Regions from separate parts of the Homo sapiens genome. Here region 2 is linked to region 1. Evidence: promoter capture Hi-C in 16 types of primary human blood cells and fetal thymus (Javierre and others, 2016). All regions are on one chromosome and are shown on one strand. Each heading gives the region's core, a stretch centred on a gene start or on the middle of the fragment in contact. The rest is flanking DNA. Distances are from core to core; before and after follow the strand shown. Region 1 holds the start of FDXACB1 (ferredoxin-fold anticodon binding domain containing 1). Region 2 overlaps FDX1 (ferredoxin 1).

Evidence for each region. The method cuts DNA at HindIII sites, captures the fragments that hold promoters and counts their contacts. A CHiCAGO score of 5 or more calls a contact.
Region 2: a contact is called between a fragment that was not itself captured here and the fragment with the promoter of FDXACB1 in region 1, in 3 of 17 cell types (naive B cells, naive CD8 T cells and total B cells). The highest score is 10.3, in naive B cells.

What each region holds. Positions count from the first base shown.
Region 1 is chr11:111,876,414-111,880,789 of GRCh38, reverse strand. FDXACB1 (ferredoxin-fold anticodon binding domain containing 1) reads left to right here and starts at 1,625. Exons shown (of 5, transcript NM_138378.3): 1 at 1,625-1,829; 2 at 2,078-2,234; 3 at 3,779-3,982; 4 at 4,151-4,309. The coding sequence starts at 1,658. CFAP68 (cilia and flagella associated protein 68) reads right to left here and starts at 1,249. Exons shown (of 4, transcript NM_022761.3): 1 at 1,185-1,249. The coding sequence starts at 1,229. RefSeq lists enhancers at 1,372-1,841, 1,338-1,957. The HindIII fragment of the contact is 2,066 bases long and covers 843-2,908 here.
Region 2 is chr11:110,431,310-110,435,685 of GRCh38, reverse strand. The region is part of intron 1 of FDX1 (ferredoxin 1); the gene reads right to left. Among named protein-coding and RNA genes, the nearest start is that of FDX1, 3.6 kb to the right of the region's middle. The HindIII fragment of the contact is 2,203 bases long and covers 149-2,351 here.

The sequences.
Region 1 (4,376 bases), core at 376-2,875:
AGACCCCAAGAGACACAAGAAATAATTCAAGGTGAGTCTATAAAGCATAAGGAAGTTTATTAAGAAAGTAAAGGAATAAAGAATGGCTACTCCATATGCAGAGCAACCCTGAGGGCAGCTGGTTGCCCATTTTTATGGTTGTTGATTATATACTAAACAAGGGGTGGATTAATTCATACCTCCACTTTTTAGACCATATACGGTAACTTCCTGACTTTGCCATGGCATTTGTAAACTGTCATGGCGCTGGTGGGAGTGTAGCAATGAGGATGACCAGAGATCACTCTCATCACCATCTCGGTTTTGGTGGATTTTAGCTGGCTTCTTTACTGCAACCCGTTTTATCAGCAAGGTCTTTATGACCTGTATCTTGTGCTGAGCTATCTCATCCTGTGACTAAGAATGCCTTAACTTACTGGGAATGCAGCCCAGGTCTTAGCCTTATTTACCTAGCCCCTATTCAAGACGGAGTTGCTCTGGTATAAATACCTCTGACATTCTCACTTATAAGTGGGAGCTAAACATTGAGCAAACATGGACCTAAACATGGAAACAACACACACTCCAGGCTACTAACTAGAGTGGGGAGGGCGGGTGGTGTGGGTTGAAAAACTATTAGGTGCAATATACCCATGTAGCAAACCTGCAACCTACCTGGGTGCAATATATCCACGTAACAAACCTGTACCTGTACCCCCATTTGTAAAATAAAAGTTGATTTTTTTTAAAGGCTTACAACGCTCCCTATGACCTGGCCCCTGCCTAACTCTTCAGTCTCATCTGTTACTCTCCCTCCAATTGTGTTTCAGCCAAACTCAACTATTCTGTTTCTCCATCAAGCTTTTGCATATATTGTTCCTTCTGCCTCTTCACGCCTCTTGACTCAGTTAAGATGCACTTTTACCCTGTTAGCTTTCAACTCGGGTTTACTTCATCCAAGGACTCTCTGACCCTCTTCGCCCCCAAACTTGGTAACGTTCTTCTGTGTGCTCCCAGAGCACACACCCTGCCATATCAGAGTTGCCTGTTTTGCTCTGTGCATTCCCCACCAGACTGCAGGCTCATTGAAATCATAGGCCACATTTTGTTCATCCACATATCGTAACCACCCTCACAGTGGCCTGGCACGCAATAGACACTCAATACTCTTTCTTGAACGAATAGAAGATAGGAGATTTAAGCACCTGGAAGAGAAATTTTGAGCAGCAGAGACACTGGGAGGCAGCCATTTCAGACGAGGTGAAAAAAGGTTCAAAACCTTCTGCGTCAGGAGCATGCGAGACACAGTCCAACCTCTTCCTTGGCCTCAGCCCCGCCCCGTTTCTTTCACCCAGAACTCGCCTCACCCCCCTGCGCTAGTGACTGCTTGTGACCTCATGCAGGTGTGATGAAGTCGCTCAAGGCCATGCTTGGGCTAAAGACACTTTGATCTTCCCGAGGGGGTGAAAGGGCGAGGTGACAGGAAAGTGCGCGTCTTGCTTTTGCACTCATAGTTATCATCCACCGGGGAGTCGGTACACCGGCTCGTCTAGACAACCAGGCGCCATGGGTGCGTCATCAACTAGTGACGGGAGAAGACGGGGCGGAGAGAGATCCGTGAAGGAAGTGACGTAAAACGAGCGCCACAGAGAACGCGAGCCGGGAGTCCGTGGAGGCCATGGCCCCTCGGCGCCTCCTGTTGGTTGGGGAGGGGAATTTCTCCTTCGCCGCCGCTCTGAGCGAAACCCTGGATCAGAGCACTCAACTTACCGCCACCTGCCTCCAGCGCCCGGCCGAGTTGGCTCGGGATCCACTGGCCTGGGAGAATCTGCAGTGCCTGCGCGAGCGAGGTAGCGAGCCCGCCCCTCTGCGAAACCCCGCCCAGCGGCCGGCGCGTCCCAAAGTGGAAAGGGTGGGGGCGTGGGGATGTAACCCACGTGGAGATTGTTCTTGATCGTCCCACGGATATTCACATAAAGCCGGCTTTGTGCCCAGACTTGGGCTGGTCTGCACGGTTTAAGTTAGGAAGAGTTTTTCTGTTCCATGTCTTGAGGCATCCTCCTGTCTATATTTTGCGCCCCCAAACTATCTTTGCCAGGTATCGATGTACGTTTCGGTGTGGACTGCACCCAGCTGGCAGATGTCTTTGAACTGCACGAGAGAGAATTTGATCAAATTTATTTCATCTTCCCGCATTGTGGACGCAAAGCTGGCGTAGCTAAGAACAGGGAACTGCTTGCCAAATTTTTCCAAAGGTGAGGAAAGGAGCGCCCTCACAAGGAAAATGTTTAAGATGTCCATAACATAGTTACTGTACCCAAACATAAGGCACACGTGCAAGCTACTATGATATGTTTAGAAGAGACTATAAAGCCCCAAAGGAACCCCAAGTTTAGTTGGAAAGACAGATATATAAACCCTAAATGCTAAATGAAAGTACAAATAATGTACTCTTGGGTGTGTAAAAGAGGATCATTTATTTTTGACAGTGCAAAATAATGAGAGCCATATAGTCTAATGGCTAAGAACGTGCACTTAGAAGCCAGACTGCCTGGATTCAAATCCCAGCCCACCACTTAACAGTTGTTATTTTTTTATTTTTATTTATTTTTATTTTTTGAGACAGAGTCTCGCCCTGTCGCCCAGGCTGGAGTGCAGTGGTGTGGTGCAATCTCGGCTCACTGCAAGCTCCGCCTACTGGGTTCACGCCATTCTCCTGCCTCAGCCTCCCAAGTAGCTGGGAGTACAGGCGCCCGCCACCACGCCCAGCTAATTTTTTGTATTTTTAGTAGAGATGGGGTTTCACCGTGTTAGCCAGGATGGTGTCGATCTCCTGACCTTGTGATCCGCCTGCCTTGGCCTCCTAAAGTGCTGGGATTACAGGCATGAGCCACCACGCCCGGCCAACAGTTGTTATTTTAAGCAAGCTTACTTAATCTTTACATGCTTCCGTTTCCTCAACTGTAAACTAGGGATATTAATAGTAACTAACTGGGCCAGGCGTGGTGGCTCATGCCTGTAATCCCAGCAGTTTGGGAGGCCGAGGTGAGCAGATCACCTGAGGTCAGGAGTTTGAGACCAGCCTGGCCAAAGTGGCAAAACCCCGCCTCTACTAAAAATATAAAAATTAGCTGGCCGTGCTGGCACGTGCCTGTAGTCCCAGGTACTTGGGAGGCTGAGGCAGGAGAATCGCTTGAACTTGGGAGGTGGAGGTTGCAGTGAGCTGAGATCGTGCCACTGCACTCCAGCCTGGGCGACAGAGCAAGACTCCATCTCAAAAAAAAAAAAAAAAAAAAAAGTAACTAACAGCCTCATAAAATTATTGTGAACTGAAAACAGTGCTTTACATGATTATACCACAAGACATGATACTATTGGAGGTGTCCGATGGGGCATAGCTGTCAATAAAGTTTTGACAGAGGTGGTATTTTAAACTAGTATTTGAATTTCAGGAGGGCAGTGAAAAGAACTTTCTAAATGGGAAGAAACAGCCTAAGCAATGAATCATATATAGGAACTGTGCAGATATTGATCTTTCTGTGACATATGCATGAATGACACAAATGCAAAGCAGACCCTGGTCAGCCAATCTTATCAGTGAGTGGGTTGAACATTTAATTTATGCTTCTATTTACTTCCAGCTACTTTCTTTGCATTTTTTGAGGTCTAATAGATTTTTGCACATAGGTATGATTGGATTTTAATTATTTCACAGGCAAACCATGTGTATGTTGCCAACTCCTGTGGTAATTTCTGCTTGTTTATGATAATTAGTTAGTGTTTCTTTTCTCCCTATTAGCTGTGCAGACGTTCTTGCAGAGGAAGGAGAAGTCCACGTGGCATTATGTAGAGGACAAGGTGGAACTCCTGCGGATAAGCCCCAGAGAGAATGGCACAACAGTTGGCAAGTGGTTGCCATGGCAGCCCTGGGGGGGCTCATTTTAAGCGACGTGTATCCATTCAGCTGTAAGGCTGTGGCAGGGTACAAGTGCACTGGATATAGGTAGGTAATAGCATAGGTTTAAGCCTTCTGCGTTTTCATCTCTCTCACTAATGATAACAAAATCTCATAGACAGACTCAATAGGCCCTGCCAATTAATTGATTCGGTCTCTAAAAATACTTGCTTATTTTAATAATGACAGACTTCATATTGGTGTCTATTTTGCCAGGAGTCAAGATAAGTCCTTTCATGTAGAAGGTGCTTTGAACCATATCTTCACCAGGAGCTTACCTTTTGAAGGTTCTCAACCCAGAATCTTCAGGATCAAACTGGGTAACCAGTGGTTTTCCTTTCCAGAACCAGAAGCACTTGTAGGAAAGTTGAACAGGTAACCAGTTATTTTGCTGGAAATCACTTCCATCTCCAGTTGTATCCTGATTGTCTTGATGGCAACC
Region 2 (4,376 bases), core at 1-2,500, 1.4 Mb after region 1:
TGTAGTGACGGGGTGCCACCATGTTGCTCAAGCTGGTCTCAAATTCCTGGCCTCAAGCCATCTTCTCAACTTGGCCTCCTAAAACTCTGAGATTACAGGCCTGAGCCACCATGCCTAGCCGAAGGTATTTTCTTTTCTTTCCAAAGCTTATTTGGAAATCAAAGGCATATATATCTACCCACCTACCAGGTAATAAGCTCTACTACCTTACAGGAAATGGCAATGACTACCTGGTCAACGCCACCTGGTGGCCTCAGTATATGTCTCCCTAATAGTCACAGTTATAAAACATTTGGCAATTATTATCACTCATGAACTCTATTTTACTCTCATACAAGCCAGTGCAGTAGCTTGCACCTGTAACCCCAGTACTTCGAGAAGCTGAAGTGGGAAGATTGTTTGACGCCAGAAGTTTGAGACCAGCCTGGGCAACATGGCAAGATCCCATCTTTACAAAAAATAAAATAATTAGCCAGGTGTGGTGATGTGATCTGTAGTCCCAGCTAATTGGGAGGCTGAAACGGGAGGATCCCTTGAGCCCAGGAGGAGGAAGAGGCTGCAATGGGATATGATTGCACCACTGCACTCCAGCCTGGGCAACACAGCAAGACCCTGTCATTTAAAAAAGAAAAGGCCAAGTGTGGTGGCTCATACCTGTACTCCTAGCACTTTGGGAGGCCGAGGCAGGGGACTGCTTGAGCCCAGGAGTTTGAGACCAGCCTGAGCAACACAGAGAGACCCTATTGCTACAAAAAATAAAAATAAAAATGAGATGGTTGTAGGTGTATGAAAAATAAAAGGCATGGTGGTATTTGCCCATAGTACCAGCTACTCATGGGGCTGAGGTGGATCACCCGATCCCAGAAGTTCAGGGCTGCAGTGAGCCGTGATTACACCATTGCACTCTAACCTGGGCAACAGCTCAAGGCCCTGTCTCAAAAAAAAAAAAAAAAAAAAAAACAAAAAAAGTCATCACACAGCTCTCTGAAAAACATGAATGTGTCCATAAAAGACTAGACCAGGGTTGTAGTGAGCTTCTAAAAAGCAAATCATGGCCGAGCATGGTGACTCACGCCTGTAATTCCAACACTTTGGGAGGCCAAGGCGGGCGGATTACCTGAGGTCAGAAGTTCAAGACCAGCCTGGCCAACATGGCGAAACCCCGTCTCTACTAAAAATACAAAAATTAGGCATGGTGGTACATGCCTGTAATCCCAGCTACTCGGGAGGCTGAGGCAGGAGAATCGCTTGAACCCGGAAGGCAGAGGTTGCAGTGAGCCGAGATCAAACCACTGCACTCCAGCCCGGGTGGCAGAGTGAAACTCTGTCTCCAAAAAAAAAAAAAAAAAAATCAATAGGGCGATTGCTTTTCCAGTGCTACATAGAATACTACTGCTGAGAGATGTTGTTTAGTAGTTTTCTGCGTATTTGACATCTCATTTCAGTCCACATTGTATACTTACAAATCAAAGGGACTAGAAAAAGTTTATTTGTTTGAATCTGTAAGATAAATACCTCCTTACATGTTTTTTTAAGATAGTATGTTAACTATCAGCTAGCTGACTTAAATTTCCTTCACTTCTCACAAACATCCCTCCAAAATTTGAGAAGCCATTATACTAAAAACTAGATCCTTATTCCTCCACCATTGGTCATTTTAATTTTTACCTCACACTTGAAAAGATTCTCTTCAACTTAAAATAATGAGTTGTTATTCTTATTACTACCAGTAGATGGCAATAGCCCATCAAACAAATCTTTAAGTAAAACTCAGAATTAAATAATTTCAGAGCCATAACTATCTCGAAAGTTATCAAGTCCAGTGATCCCATTTCACAAATGAGGCAACTGAAGCCCCACTGGGATAATGCCCTCCCTAATATTATAACACTGGGAAAAAAAACAGGATTCTATTCATTAAAACTCATCAAAAGGGTGTGTGTGTGTGTACCAGAATGTTCCTCAAAAGGGCCTGCGCTCTCCAACTTCTTTTCACAGCCAAAACATGCTTTAAAACTAGTATTCCCACATATTATTCATAATTTTCAACATGAATAACTGCCATTTTTTTCAAAGTACAATGGCTGAGAATGAAAATACCCTAGAGGCAGGGAGGCCACTTTGGAGGTTATCAAAACAGCATAAACTAATCAGGGACAGAGAATGCAGTGACTTAACAGACATCCAGGAGGTAGACCAAAAGGTTTTAGTGACCATCTACATAAGATAAACTGAAAAGCGGAAAGAAAAACATTGGGATTTCCAGCTCACACAATTAGGTGGTACCATTTAACCTAGGTTTAAGACAGGAACCAAAGGAACTTTGGGGAAGACAGAAATAAGTTGAAGCTTAGACCTGCTGAATTTAATAATGAAAAAGCCAGATGAGAATGTCCAAACACCAGATGGCAATATGGGTATGGGTCTGAGCCCAGCAGAGAAGTCTAGAGATTTGACATCAACGAATGCCTGGTAGCTAAAGCTACAGGAAGCACATTAGAAAGAATTCCATCATTTATACACACTACTGAAAGCCAGAGGTTTCAGCGTTGCTGTTCTTCTGAAGCACTCTAGAGCTAAGCTTACAGCAAAGGAATTCGAAATCTCTTACATCAGCCTCCTCTTCTATAAAATTGGACAACATTAATCTTATAGTTCTGACAATGTATGCAAAATACGTAACACATAGTAGAATTCAACACACACTGATTAATAACTGTTATTTAAAGACCAAGCCCTTTTGCTAAGAAGCCCAACCTGTTGGTCTGTATTAAAGGTAAACAGCCCTACAAAAAACTGCCAAGTAAGAGTATTAACAGGTTTACCAAAGAAGAGGAGAGGAGGCGGAAACGAAAGAAAAATGTAATTCTTAAGTTGAAAGAGTATGGAACCTAAGAGTCAGAAGATGTAGACCCTATGCTGGGAGTGGTCACTCACGCCTGTAATCCCAATACTTTGGGAGGCTGAAGCAGGCAGATTACTTGAGGCCAGGGGTTCCAGACCAGGCTGGTCAACATAGTGAAATCTCATCTCTACTAAAACTACAAAACTTAGCCGAGTGTGGTGGCACGCGCCTGTAATCCCAGATATTCGGGTGGCTGAGGCACGAGAATCGCTTGAACCTGGGAGGTGTAGGCTGCAGTGAGCCATGATGGCACCACTGCACTCAGGTGAAGAGTACACCAACACCTCCAAAATCACCACTAAAGAACTAACCCATTAACCAAACACCACCTGTGCCCCCAAAACTACTGAAATTTTAAAAATAAATAGAAATTTAAAATTTTTTTAAAATCCGCAAAAACTTCTTGAGTTCTAGTCCTAGTTTTGCCAGCTACTTAATATGAAATTTTTATTCCCATTTATCTACCCTCCCTACCTCATAGAATTGTCTTAAGAGTCATACGAAACAATACACGTGAAAGATCTTTGCTACCTGAATCACTGCAAACCCCCTTGTGTCACGGTATTTTAGAGTAAAAGGAGTTTTTCTGACTCTCAATTACTGATAGCTTATCGAGTTGTTAAACTTCAAAGACAGAACTACAGTTTCTAGAACTGCTCTGTCTGTCTATAAGAACTTTGTGCCATAACAAAGATGTTCTACACATACTTGCAATGTCCAATACAGTAGCCACTAGCCACATGTGGCTACTGAGAACTCGAAATGTGGCTAGTGTAACTACGAGATTGAATCTTTAATTTTATTTACCTTTAATTATGTTAAACTTCAATAGCCACATGTGATTAGTAGTTACGGTAGTTACAGCACAAGTCTCATTAACACAGTAAGAACTGGAAAATCCAGTTGTAGCTCCAAAGTCTGTAAGAGGAATGATAAGACCATGAATAGAAATTGTGCCAATAAAGAGGGCAGCAGGATTATGAGGAAATAGACGTGCTCCCCTTTAAAACAACCTGACATATCCAAATCCAAAAAACAAATCTGAGAAAGATAACTCCCAATTACTACAAAAACATTCATGTTCCCTTATACCAGTTACACAAGCATGTTCAATATCTGTCCCAATTGATTCAGTTGTCCAAAACTCATCCATTGTATAACAGAAAGCAAGGTACCCACACTGGTCAAAGACAGGGGGGGAAGTGCAGAGGAAACAGGAACAAATAAATCTGGCTTGCCTTCTCCCTGATTTCCCCCAAAGTTCACACAACAAAAATGTATGGAGCACCCACTAGATAACGGGATTAGTGGGGAAAAGATGACTGAAAGTCTTAGACCCTGCTCTCAGAGACCTCAAAAAGAAACTAGACAAAGCAGCGTACAAATCCAACACACTCTCCCTCTAGTTCTCGATTCCTGCTACCCTACATCATGCGGTCAAAGAGCTGTCGAGAGATCTGCATTATATAAA